Regions from separate parts of the Homo sapiens genome. Here all the other regions are linked to region 2. Evidence: promoter capture Hi-C in human tissues and cell types (Jung and others, 2019). All regions are on one chromosome and are shown on one strand. The core of a region is centred on a gene start or on the middle of the fragment in contact, and the rest is flanking DNA. Distances in the headings are between cores, read along the strand shown. Region 1 has its middle 15 kb from the start of ACKR3. Region 2 holds the start of COPS8 (COP9 signalosome subunit 8). Region 3 overlaps COL6A3 (collagen type VI alpha 3 chain).

Region 1 (3,407 bases), core at 155-2,654, 500 kb after region 2:
AAACACATACCGGAGACTAATTTATAAAGAAAAAGAGGTTTCATGAACTCACAGCTCCACATGTCAGGGGAGGCCTCACAATCATGGTGGAAGGTGAAAGGCATGTCTTACATGGTGGCCGGCAAGAGAGAAGGAGAGCCAAGTGAAAAGGGAAACCCCATATAAAACCATCAGATCTCATGAGACTTATTCACTACCACAAGAACAGTACGGGGGAAACTGCCCTCATGATTGGGAGGAGGCTCCAGGAAACGCCATCAAGAAAGCCAAAGCTGCTTTTCTACCAGCTGCCTCAAGTTATCTCCCACCAGGTCCCTCCCACAACATGTGGGAATTATGGGAGCTAGAGTTCAAGATAAGATTTGGGTGGGGACACCGTCAAGCCATATCAGTAATTCTCTGTCTGGGGGCTCTCCTGTGCACAACTGGCTGTTCAGCAGCATTCTTGGCCTTGACTCACAAGATGACATTAGCATTCCCCACCCCAAGTTGGGACAACTAAAGATATCTCTGGACATTGACAAATGTCTCCTGGGGGTGCAAATTGTCCCCAGTTAGAATGAGTTTGAGACAGATGTGCCTCATCTTTTCACTCACCACCCACAGGCAGATATTCTCTTGCCCGATTTCTCTGAAATGCATTGTTTCTTCTCAAGAAAAATGCAAATTATGCCCAGAGAAAGTGGTCAGAATGGCTGTTGTTCTCTGAGCATGTACTATGTGTGCCCCAGGCACCGTGACATGCATTTTGCAGAGACTGTGCGATCTGATCATTACGATTACCCTATGAATCAAGTACTATCATCGTCCAACATTATAAACAAGGAAGCTAAGTTTAGCAAAGCTAAAACCTGGCCCACATTCCCCAGGATAGTAAACAGTGATGGTTCTTTGGGCTACACACTTGGCAGAGGCCTGAGACTTTGAGAAGGCGGATCTCAACCCTGTGGCCCAGGCTCTCGCTAGGATGGTCCTAAACATGCACATGGAAACTGTGTCCAGGAGTGTGTGTTGGTCACACAGATGGTAGCAAGTCTAGGTGTATGCACAGGTCTGTGTGAGCGTCAGAGACTGCACGAGGTGAGCAAACTCTGCTACTCTGCCAGAAGAGTTTATGGAAGAGTCAGGCCGTCCTCAGCCATCCTCAGGGCAAACGAACCACCATAAATCTCAACCACTTTCGAGTGGTTTAATGTCCTATCAAACCTCATTCAAACTAATCGTGTTCCATATCAAATGTCATTGATATCGAGACTGTGGGATCTTAGCAGTCCCTGCATAAATGCAAACCACCAGGGAGCTTTTCCTGGGAAATCCAAGACTAAGAAACAGGAAGTGGGAAATGTTCTATAGCGGTGGGTCGATCTTTTAAAGCATTTAGCCCACCTGAAACCACTGCCCCTGAAGGACTAAAATCTCAGTGGCATAGGCCCATGCAGAGGTATCCCTGGCACTTAGGGGCAAAAGCTCATACCTCCAGGAGAAAGCTCTGGGAACTTTCTCTGCTGTCTTCCTCAGCCATCCATCCCAACAGTACAGATCCACAGCACGCCACTTTTCCCCAGAGTTCTGAGACACCTGTGCTTACCTAAATGTGATGTCTCCCAGATCCATTACATATATACAGCCAATATCCTCAGAGTAGAAGCCCAGTAAGGCAGAATTTCCACATTCCTAATAAAATAGACCATGCCCCGGAGCTGCTGCCTCCTGGAGAGGCCCCAGGAAGCATCGGCTACAGAAGATTTAAAATGTATTGCTGCTCTGCCCAGATCTGACCACAGATATCAGTGGGGTCCCATCCCAGGTTGCTGCGAGACTCTTGGAAGGACCAAAAGCCATCAGCCAGCAAATAGATCGTATTCCCTTGTGCTCAGATGATTTTCCATCTGGGCTTTTCAGCGGCATTATTTTTCTTCTTCACTTGTGGGGAACCTGGGGTACAATCAAGGTCAGCAGCTCATACGTTGAACCAGATGGAAAGCATTTAACACTGACTCACTGATGACGGGCTGCCATCCGGGCTGCTGGGGGTGGCCTTCCGCTGCCCACCGCCCGCCATGCCTTGGGCATTTCAACCATGAAACAGGAGCAGAGTATTAGAGCCTGGGATGGGAGGAGGCTCCAGGAAGCGCCATCAAGAAAGCCAAAGCTGCTTTTCTCCCAACTCTGAGGTCCCACCCTGTGCCTGGGGCTCCAGACATCCTTCCTGGGGTCCAAGGTCATGGCGCTAACAGCTTTCTTACCACATCAGGAGGCGGGTGTCTTGGAAGATCTGTACAGAGAAAAGGACGCCAAAGAATGACCCTCCAATGGCAGCACTGCAGGCCCTCTAGTCCCTGGATTTGAGGAGAGCCAGGGGTCTCCTGTCCACCCCTCCTCCCTTCAAGGCCCACCCCATATCCAAATACAGCTCAGGATTCTCTCTGCCTCTTCTACACCACAGTCATAGGGTGGGGCTGATTTTTTTTTTTTTTTCAGTATTAACTCCCCTCCCCTCAGGACACTCTGTGTCCCTTGACCCAGCCTCTGTTATCCCACCTGGCTCCAGGGAAGGACCCTGCAGTGGAAATCAAAGGAAAGAGATTTTGAGTCCAGATAACTAGGAATAAACCAGCAAGTCTTCCAGCCCCAGGCAGGACAAAGAAGGGGATTTCTAGAAGGAACAGAAAGAACACAGTCACTGGAGCATTCCCGAGATGGAGCCTGCCCCTGCAGACAGCAGACCCCAGGGACGTCGGAGGGTCTGGGACAGTAGGCCACGGTGCCCTGGGCCCTGTGGGAGATGGAAAATCCCCCCAAAGCAAAAGGTGCCACCTGGTGAGTCCGGGTCCAGTTCAGTGTCACCCTCCCTCCCCACCCCCTCCACTGCAGTGTGGGAGGAGGCAGCTGGGGCAGCCCCCAGGCTGCAGAACAGCAGAAAAACAGAAAAGGGCCAGACCAGTCTCACCATCCAGCGAGGCAAAAGCAGCAGCAAGAGCCACATGAACTGGGGTGGCAGAGGAGCCCTGCAGAAGGATCGACAGGTCCTCTCAGACATCCACGTAGACACACAAGCCTGAAAGACCCTCACCCACCCCAGCACTGTTAGCCCCCGGGAACCTACTGAAATTCTAGGGTAAGCGGGTGGGAGAGACCGCTGGATGGACCGCGATGGCAATTCAGCATAGCAGTTCAGTTGAATGCCTTTTACCGCCCATCTATTGCAAGGCTGAGCATGTGGACTGCAATTGATGCCCTCCTCCCCCTCCCCATTTTGAATTTACTACTGGAAAAGTGTATTTCTGCCTGAACTTGACCCCTAGAAGGCTCACAGCAAACATGCAAGCCATTTTTATCGTCAAGGAACACATATTTGGGTCGAGAACTTTCCCGATTCCATGTTGCCATCCTACCTACTCTTATTT
Region 2 (3,455 bases), core at 1-2,500:
TCCTCCAGGGGCCTAGAAGGCCAAAAATGAAAACAAAACAAAACAACACAAAATTTTAAAAACCTCATTTACCCTTTAACTTTCATTTTTAAAATAATATTTTATAAATGCTAATTTTAAAAGTAAGCCTTTTTAGTCTAAGACTATAAGTAATCTTATAGTCCTATTATAGATTTAGAAACAGCTTAGAGAAGTATCAAACACGAAAATTCTGAGTATTAAGTTTATATTCGTCATCAGCTTTGATTTATCTCCCTTTGGGCTTCAGTTTCTTTATACATTCAAGAATATGTAAGTGGATCCCCTTCCCCAGTTCTCAAATTCCCATTTAAATGATCTTACTATTATAAGAAACAAATTCGACAGATTCCTGAAGCATTCTGATTCTGCCCATTACATCAAGCGTCCTGAATAAGAGACAGAAAATCACCACAGCTGCGTTGCAAAGACAATTCTTTCCATTTTAACTCAACTGGAAAGTATCTATTATCTATTAGTGAGCTGCTGCTTCTGGATGTTGTCTCCTTTATTTAATTTTAAAACTAATGATATAAACCCTTTTTAAGTGTCTAAGAAAAACATTAACTTTAACAGCTGCATAACTTTCATCTGTCTTACTGAAGACAAAATGGCAAGCTAACTTGACAACATTACGAGAAAGGCTTTGTGAGTTAAAAAAAGGTTACAATGGTCACATTTTTCTTGGTGTGCGTGTGAGTTGCGGTGTGTGTGTTAGTGTGTGTGTGTATACCAAGATCTTTAATAAAACCCACTTTACTACCCTCTCCCAACCCGATACTGGGAAGGAAAGATGCCTAATTAATATGAGCTCATCGGTAGGTGCTGGAGCAAAGACGCACAGGGTTTTCGGGCTCACAAGCTGAAGACACATAACAAAAAGGTCCCGGCGAGTTCGGGGAGACCGGGCCCGGTCGGAGCAGGTTGCGGCGGTCAGGGATCCACACGTCCACCTCCCACGCCCGCCCCGTGAGCTCCCAAAGCCCGCTAGCCTCAGACCCCGTTACCCTGGAAACTGGTGCCGCCCCAGGGCCTAAGACTACTCCGCAGTTTCTCCCAGCGCGACGCAAAGGGTTACCTCGAGCTCCTGGTTCTCGCACTGATCCAGCAACTTTTTGAAACTAAAGGCGCTTTCCGCCATCACCGCCACTGGCATCTTCGCGGCCGGCCTCGCCGCTGCACCGTCCGGACAGCCAAACCCCAGACTGTCCCTCAGGCGTCGCGCCCGCGATGACGTTTAAAGCCGCCGTTGCCGCCGAGCGCCCCTGCGTACCAGACCGTCAGTTCCGGGGCGCCGTCAGACATCGCTGCGGCCGGGATAGGGCGCCGCCGTTCTGGCCGGCTTTCTCGGTGCCCTGGAGGACCTGGCCGGCTCCGCGGGAAGCTGTACTCAGAGCGCGCGGCCGCCCTCTGGCAGGGAGGAGTTCGTTGCACTTTTGAGGGTTCTTCACGAAGACATCCAATACATAGAAAACAAGTAACAGCAACAGTAACGAATTTTTAAATATTAAAATTGCTGGGGAACACGACGGATCCTGCAGCTGCTCGGCTGTCCCGGTCGTCAGTGACGCTAGGGCTCCGCACCGTACCCTGCATACCGTAGGTGCTCACGAAACGTTCGTGAGTTCCCTGCTCTGAGGAAACAAGCTTAAAAACTCAGAATCTAAGGTGTGAGTCTCCGCAAACCTGCTTGTTGGGCAGCGTCCCCCGCCCGGGCTAGCCCTGCACGCCCCACCCCGGAGCCACGCTTCTCCAGCCGGGACCCCTGCCTCCTTCCAGGCTATTCTCGGAACCGCAGCCAGAGGGAATTTTTTTTTCCTTTCCTGAAACGTAGAGCAGATCTGGTTACTCTTCTGCACAACGCCCTAAAATCTAGGGCCCTTCCCATCCCTCAGAATTTACATCTAATTCTCAGCTCCCCTCCGGCTTGCTGTAGCCATCCTGGCTTTTGTTTAGCACAGCACTTACTGTTAGTGACATTATATTGTATATTATTAACATATTTGTGTTTTACATCCCTCACTAGACCCCCAGGAAAGAGGCTTTGATGTGTTGCCTGCTGCAAGGCTGGCTGCATAATTTGTGGAGCTCAGAGAAAAGTGCGGAGCTTCCTTGTTCAAAAAACAGAAAGAAAGTGCCTCTGAGGTCATAAAATATAAAACTTTCTCTTTCCTCTCAGTTTCTCTCTTTTCATAGTGTTTTTATGTGTTATTTAATATCATTCCAAGAAAAATTTAGATTTAAATTGTTAGCATGAAGTTCACCATCCATCTTTACGTTGTGCAATGCCAGTTTTAAATACTAATATAAGTGCACTGATCTCATATGTGGAATCACAGAAATTATGCAATTTGTACTTCATAGCTTATACATGCATATAGATTTTGTTTTTACCAGAACCACGCTGGTAAAAACAGATGCTGCACAAAGTGAACTTGCCCGTTTTCATCGCACTTTACGTGCACGAATTCTACCTCTACTCTCGACCTGGGACTCACCGATGCGTAAGGAAGGACTGAAAAGCAAAAGAACTATGGACTGGCCTTTTGGCATGATCAGGTGTCTAATATAAAGAAGTGCATGAATAAGAAAATATATGATATGAGTGATGGTTAATACTGACTGTCAACTTGATTGGATTGAAGGATGCAAAGTATTGATCCTGGGTGTGTCTGTGAGGGTGTTGCCAAAGGAGATTAACATTTGAGTCAGTGGGCTGGGAAAGTTCGACCCACTGTTAATCTAGATGGACACCATCTAATCAGATGCCAGTGCAGCTAGAAATGTAAAGCAGACAGAAAAATGCGAAAAGAGAGACTGGCCTAGCCTGCCAGCCTACATCTTTCTCCCACGCTGGATGCTTCCTGCCCTCGAACATCAGACTCCAAGTTCTTCAGTTTGGGACTTGGACTGGCTCTCCTTGTTCCTCAGCTTGAAGACTGCCCATTGTGGGACTTGTGATCATGTGAGTTAATACTTAATAAACTCCTCTCTCTCTCTCTATATATATATATATAAATATATATATCCTATTAGTTCTGTCCCTCTAGAGAACCATGACTCATACAATATGGTTTCTTCATGCTTCTTAAGACACCATTGCCTTCTTTCTGCCTTCGAAACAAGTTTACTCTCTTAAGGGGAAAAGTGCGGCCTTTTGGGGTGTCAGCACCCAGCTCCCTCAGTTGTAGATACAGCACGAGTACCTTGTGCTCACTTTGAGTCTTGCTGGCCTCGCAACATCAGGGGTCCACAGGGAATTCAGTGTGCATGGTGCATTATGAATGCTGTATGGAACATCAGTGGCCACACGTAGAGGCCCGTTTCCCTGGCTCATGCTCCATTGTCTTAATGGACCTCACTTACAAACCACAAGTTTACAGATAAAATTATTAAGCATTTCAAGACAGAGACAGCCATCCTTGATTTTTTTTTTT
Region 3 (3,385 bases), core at 828-3,327, 320 kb before region 2:
AAGAACGGGGACTCCTTTCCCAGGATTCGTGCAAAAAGAGAGAGAAAGAGTGAGAAAAAGAGAAAGAAATGGGGCGCTCCTTCTTGCAGTCTAGGAATGGGCGTGGCAAAGGCAAGGGTGGATGAGTGCCTCAAATTTACTGAAATTTGACTTTCTATTTCACAGTCAGTGTGCACGGCTCTCCCACTGTGGTCTTTGACTATTTCCACTGCTCCCATTTTAAACAGGACAATTAGGAACTAACAGAAGTCCCAGAACTTGATAGGAGGGACAGGCTGATTTTAAAAAGCAGTGCTTGGAGAAAACCAAATAAATGACTTCAAAATGGAAGCTCTGGATTTATTTGAGTCTTTGTTTTCAAACTATTTCCTTGTGTGCATGCGTGTGTGTCTCTTTCTTAAAAAAGATTTCCAGACATGGAAAATGAAAAAGGTTTTGAGTAGGCTAAATGAAAACTAATTTACAGAATTGCAAAATAGCTTGGGAAATCATATTCATTGGAATATGATTGAATATGATTTCAGGTTGAAGGGCCATGTAGGGCAATCTTTCTGATGAAAGGTATCCTTTTAAATTTCAAAGGGATAGAAACTAAACGGAAAAAGGCACCTCAAATCCTTTTTAGAATGAGGCAGAGTAAACAAAAAGATGAATAATCCTAAACAGAAAGATGAGAATGAAAATGTGATGAATGTCTCTTATTGAATCTGTTTCCTTTAGGACACAGAATCTAGGATGAAGGAACAGACCCCTTCCAGCCCAAGGATCTCAAGCAGCCAATTCTGAGTCTTTTTTTCATATTTGAAAGAATGATAGTAGACAGCCGACTTCCATTGACATAGAATCTGTGGTGTGTCACCACCAAGGAAGTCTATTTTTTCCCCAAAAGGCATGGGGAGTTTCCTTGAGATCTGGGCCAAATCTGGCACAGCCTCTAGGGTTTCCCGGGGTTCTTCCCATGAGCTTTGGAAATGCTAACTTGGGTTAGGGTTCTGGTTCTATGTTGTTTTTATCTATGTAGCTTTGAACAATCACTTTGCCTTGCTGGGGTTTCAATTTCTCAGCTATAAAATGGAGGGAAATCAGCCATCGGATGGTTGGGAGGAGGGCGTGAAATCCCACCCACAAGACAGAAGCCCAGGAAACGTTACCAGCACTCTCCTCTCTCCTTCCTCCGGGAGGGTGGTGTCGGGGAATGAGCGCGGATGGCTGCCTCATTCCCTCTTGTTGAAGAGGGCGGGTGGTCATCTGGTGAGATGGTGTTTGACATCTTTTAATAATCTAAATGAAAAAGTTCTCCAAAATTTGCTGCCAGGGAATTTCGTTTTTTTATAAATGGAGACTCCAGGACATGACAAACAATAGAAGAGAGTTAATTGCAAACGAAAATATCAGCAAATATTCAACAGCTGGGCTAGGAGCCCACGAGCCACAAGACCTGCTTCCCGCATGATGGCAGGAAAGTGTGTGGGGCCAAAGGCGTTTTTCCCACCTGGGAATTCAGCTCAGTCAAACCATATGGGTTCTGAATCATCAGTGGAGCCTGGATAACGCATTGTCCTACAGGCATTATCTCCCGTCCTTTTCAGAGCTGGAAGGGCTCCTTTCCTTCTCTTCCCTCCCCTCCTCTTCCCTCAATATCTGGATATATTCTGGATAAAATAATTCCTGTGCACAGTGTATTTATCCCATTACTTTGTGTTCCAATGGGAAGTATCTCCACTGAGGGGGCTACTCCTCCAAAGATTCACATCTTGAAAATAAAAATCTTTACATATGATTTTCAATGAACTAAAAGTTCATTTTACTCAGAATGGTTGAAGTAAGTGAGTGATGTCTTAGACTTCCCGGATTTTATTTTGTAACTATTTAGATTGTATTGAGCACTCTGGAAGATGAGAAATGTAATTTTGGAATTGCTCCAGAGTGAGCCCACTCAATGCTTTATATGTGACAGAATCAGTGGATTCAAAGGCTTTCACTGTGTGAGGTATGGGAATGATTAAGAAAACCATTAGCAAAACCTGCTCAAGGCATAATTCACTTGTGCTCTTTGTCAATGCTCCCTGCACAGGTGTCTGCAGCTCTTCCCATCCCAGACTCAACAGTGAGGAGACAGCTCTCATCTTATCATGTCCTATTTTTTCCACCTGGATTACAAAGCCGAATGCTTTACAAAGAGCCTCTATAATACTCTTGTGTTCTCATTCACAAACAAAAATACCACTTAAAATCATGCCTCTTGAACATGGATTAAACATTTAAAGTAATCGAACTGGATCTTCCAGAAGATTTGCATTAAAATTTTTAATTGAAGCAGTGATGCTTAAACTTTTGGGGGGTGAGGAGTGGCACAACTGCCTTTTAGAATCACATACAAACATGGACCCTTATCTCCAGAAAAACCCTCATCCATAGATGCAATTTTGCACTCAACTGTGGGAGGATCATAGACTCTTTGAATCTGTTGATCCCGTATTAAAACATTGATCTGGACCAGTTACAATAATACAGGTTGTTTTGGAAAGAACAGGCCATTTTCTTAGAAAGAATCTAGCAGGAAGCTTACCTTTGCTAAAAAAAAATTGACGCTCAAGCTTGATAGAACGAATCAAGAATAGCACATATAAAATGTACTTTTATATTATTCTGAAGTGTATATCATTATTTAATTGAGGTCATACAAAAAATTAGATATTGCAATTGCTTTTTTTTTTTATTTGAAGAAACACTCAGGAATGGGTCTAACAGACTGTAGGGAAGAAAGGTAGAGCTTGGTGGAAAAGTCTGGAAGGTTCCCAGGGTTGCATGGGCTTGAGGGATTCCTAGAGAGTGAAGGGGCAAAGTTGGGGCTGTGGCACGGTGGGGGTAGGGTCAACCTAAGTGGAGGGAGGAGAACAGGCAGTCCAGCCTGTCGGGGGTCCCTGAGCCCTGCTGTGCTGCGACCGGGCTAAAGCTTGGGAGCATTATCAAACCACAGCACAAGCACTGGAGACTGCTCTTCTACATTGTGTTAACATATATCCATGTCCAAAAGGCAGTGACCATTGCAAGGGAAAAAAAATCGGGCTGAGCTTTTGCAATACTGCCGCTATCACCACTCATTGCTGTCACTTTGTTGCAGAAAAATATCTGTTCTGTTGATAACTGGCCTCCTGAGCATCATTAGAACAGCATTCCTTTCTCACTGTTGATGCATTTCCAAGAGACTGCTGTATTGACAGGTGGTTCTATTTTAGCTGCTGAGATCATGGCTTCAAGTTCTCAGAATCTGAATCACAGGGTACATTTGTTTCATCACAGGTGGTACTTTTTGTTGACTTTCTTTGGAAATCCAAAGCCACATGGGTCCTGGTGTTCATTCCCTTGTTTGTGGCTTCATCTG

The links. The method cuts DNA at HindIII sites, captures the fragments that hold promoters and counts their contacts. A contact is called where the count stands out against the background at its distance.
Region 1: a fragment that was not itself captured here is called in contact with the fragment with the promoter of COPS8 in region 2 in 1 of the 25 tissues and cell types used here (mesendoderm cells).
Region 3: a fragment that was not itself captured here is called in contact with the fragment with the promoter of COPS8 in region 2 in 1 of the 25 tissues and cell types used here (bladder).

What each region holds. Positions count from the first base shown.
Region 1 is chr2:236,583,472-236,586,878 of GRCh38, reverse strand. No RefSeq gene overlaps it. Among named protein-coding and RNA genes, the nearest start is that of ACKR3, 15 kb to the right of the region's middle. The HindIII fragment of the contact is 3,951 bases long and covers 1-3,379 here.
Region 2 is chr2:237,083,684-237,087,138 of GRCh38, reverse strand. COPS8 (COP9 signalosome subunit 8) reads right to left here and starts at 1,250. Exons shown (of 8, transcript NM_006710.5): 1 at 1,097-1,250; 2 at 1-12. The coding sequence starts at 1,174. It overlaps COPS8-DT (COPS8 divergent transcript), which reads left to right and starts at 1,318. Exons shown (of 3, transcript NR_187934.1): 1 at 1,318-2,983. RefSeq lists enhancers at 415-1,309, 1,120-1,669, 1,310-2,204. The HindIII fragment of the contact is 6,775 bases long and covers 41-3,455 here.
Region 3 is chr2:237,403,302-237,406,686 of GRCh38, reverse strand. The region is part of intron 1 of COL6A3 (collagen type VI alpha 3 chain); the gene reads left to right. Among named protein-coding and RNA genes, the nearest start is that of COL6A3, 9.2 kb to the left of the region's middle. The HindIII fragment of the contact is 6,379 bases long and covers 1-3,385 here.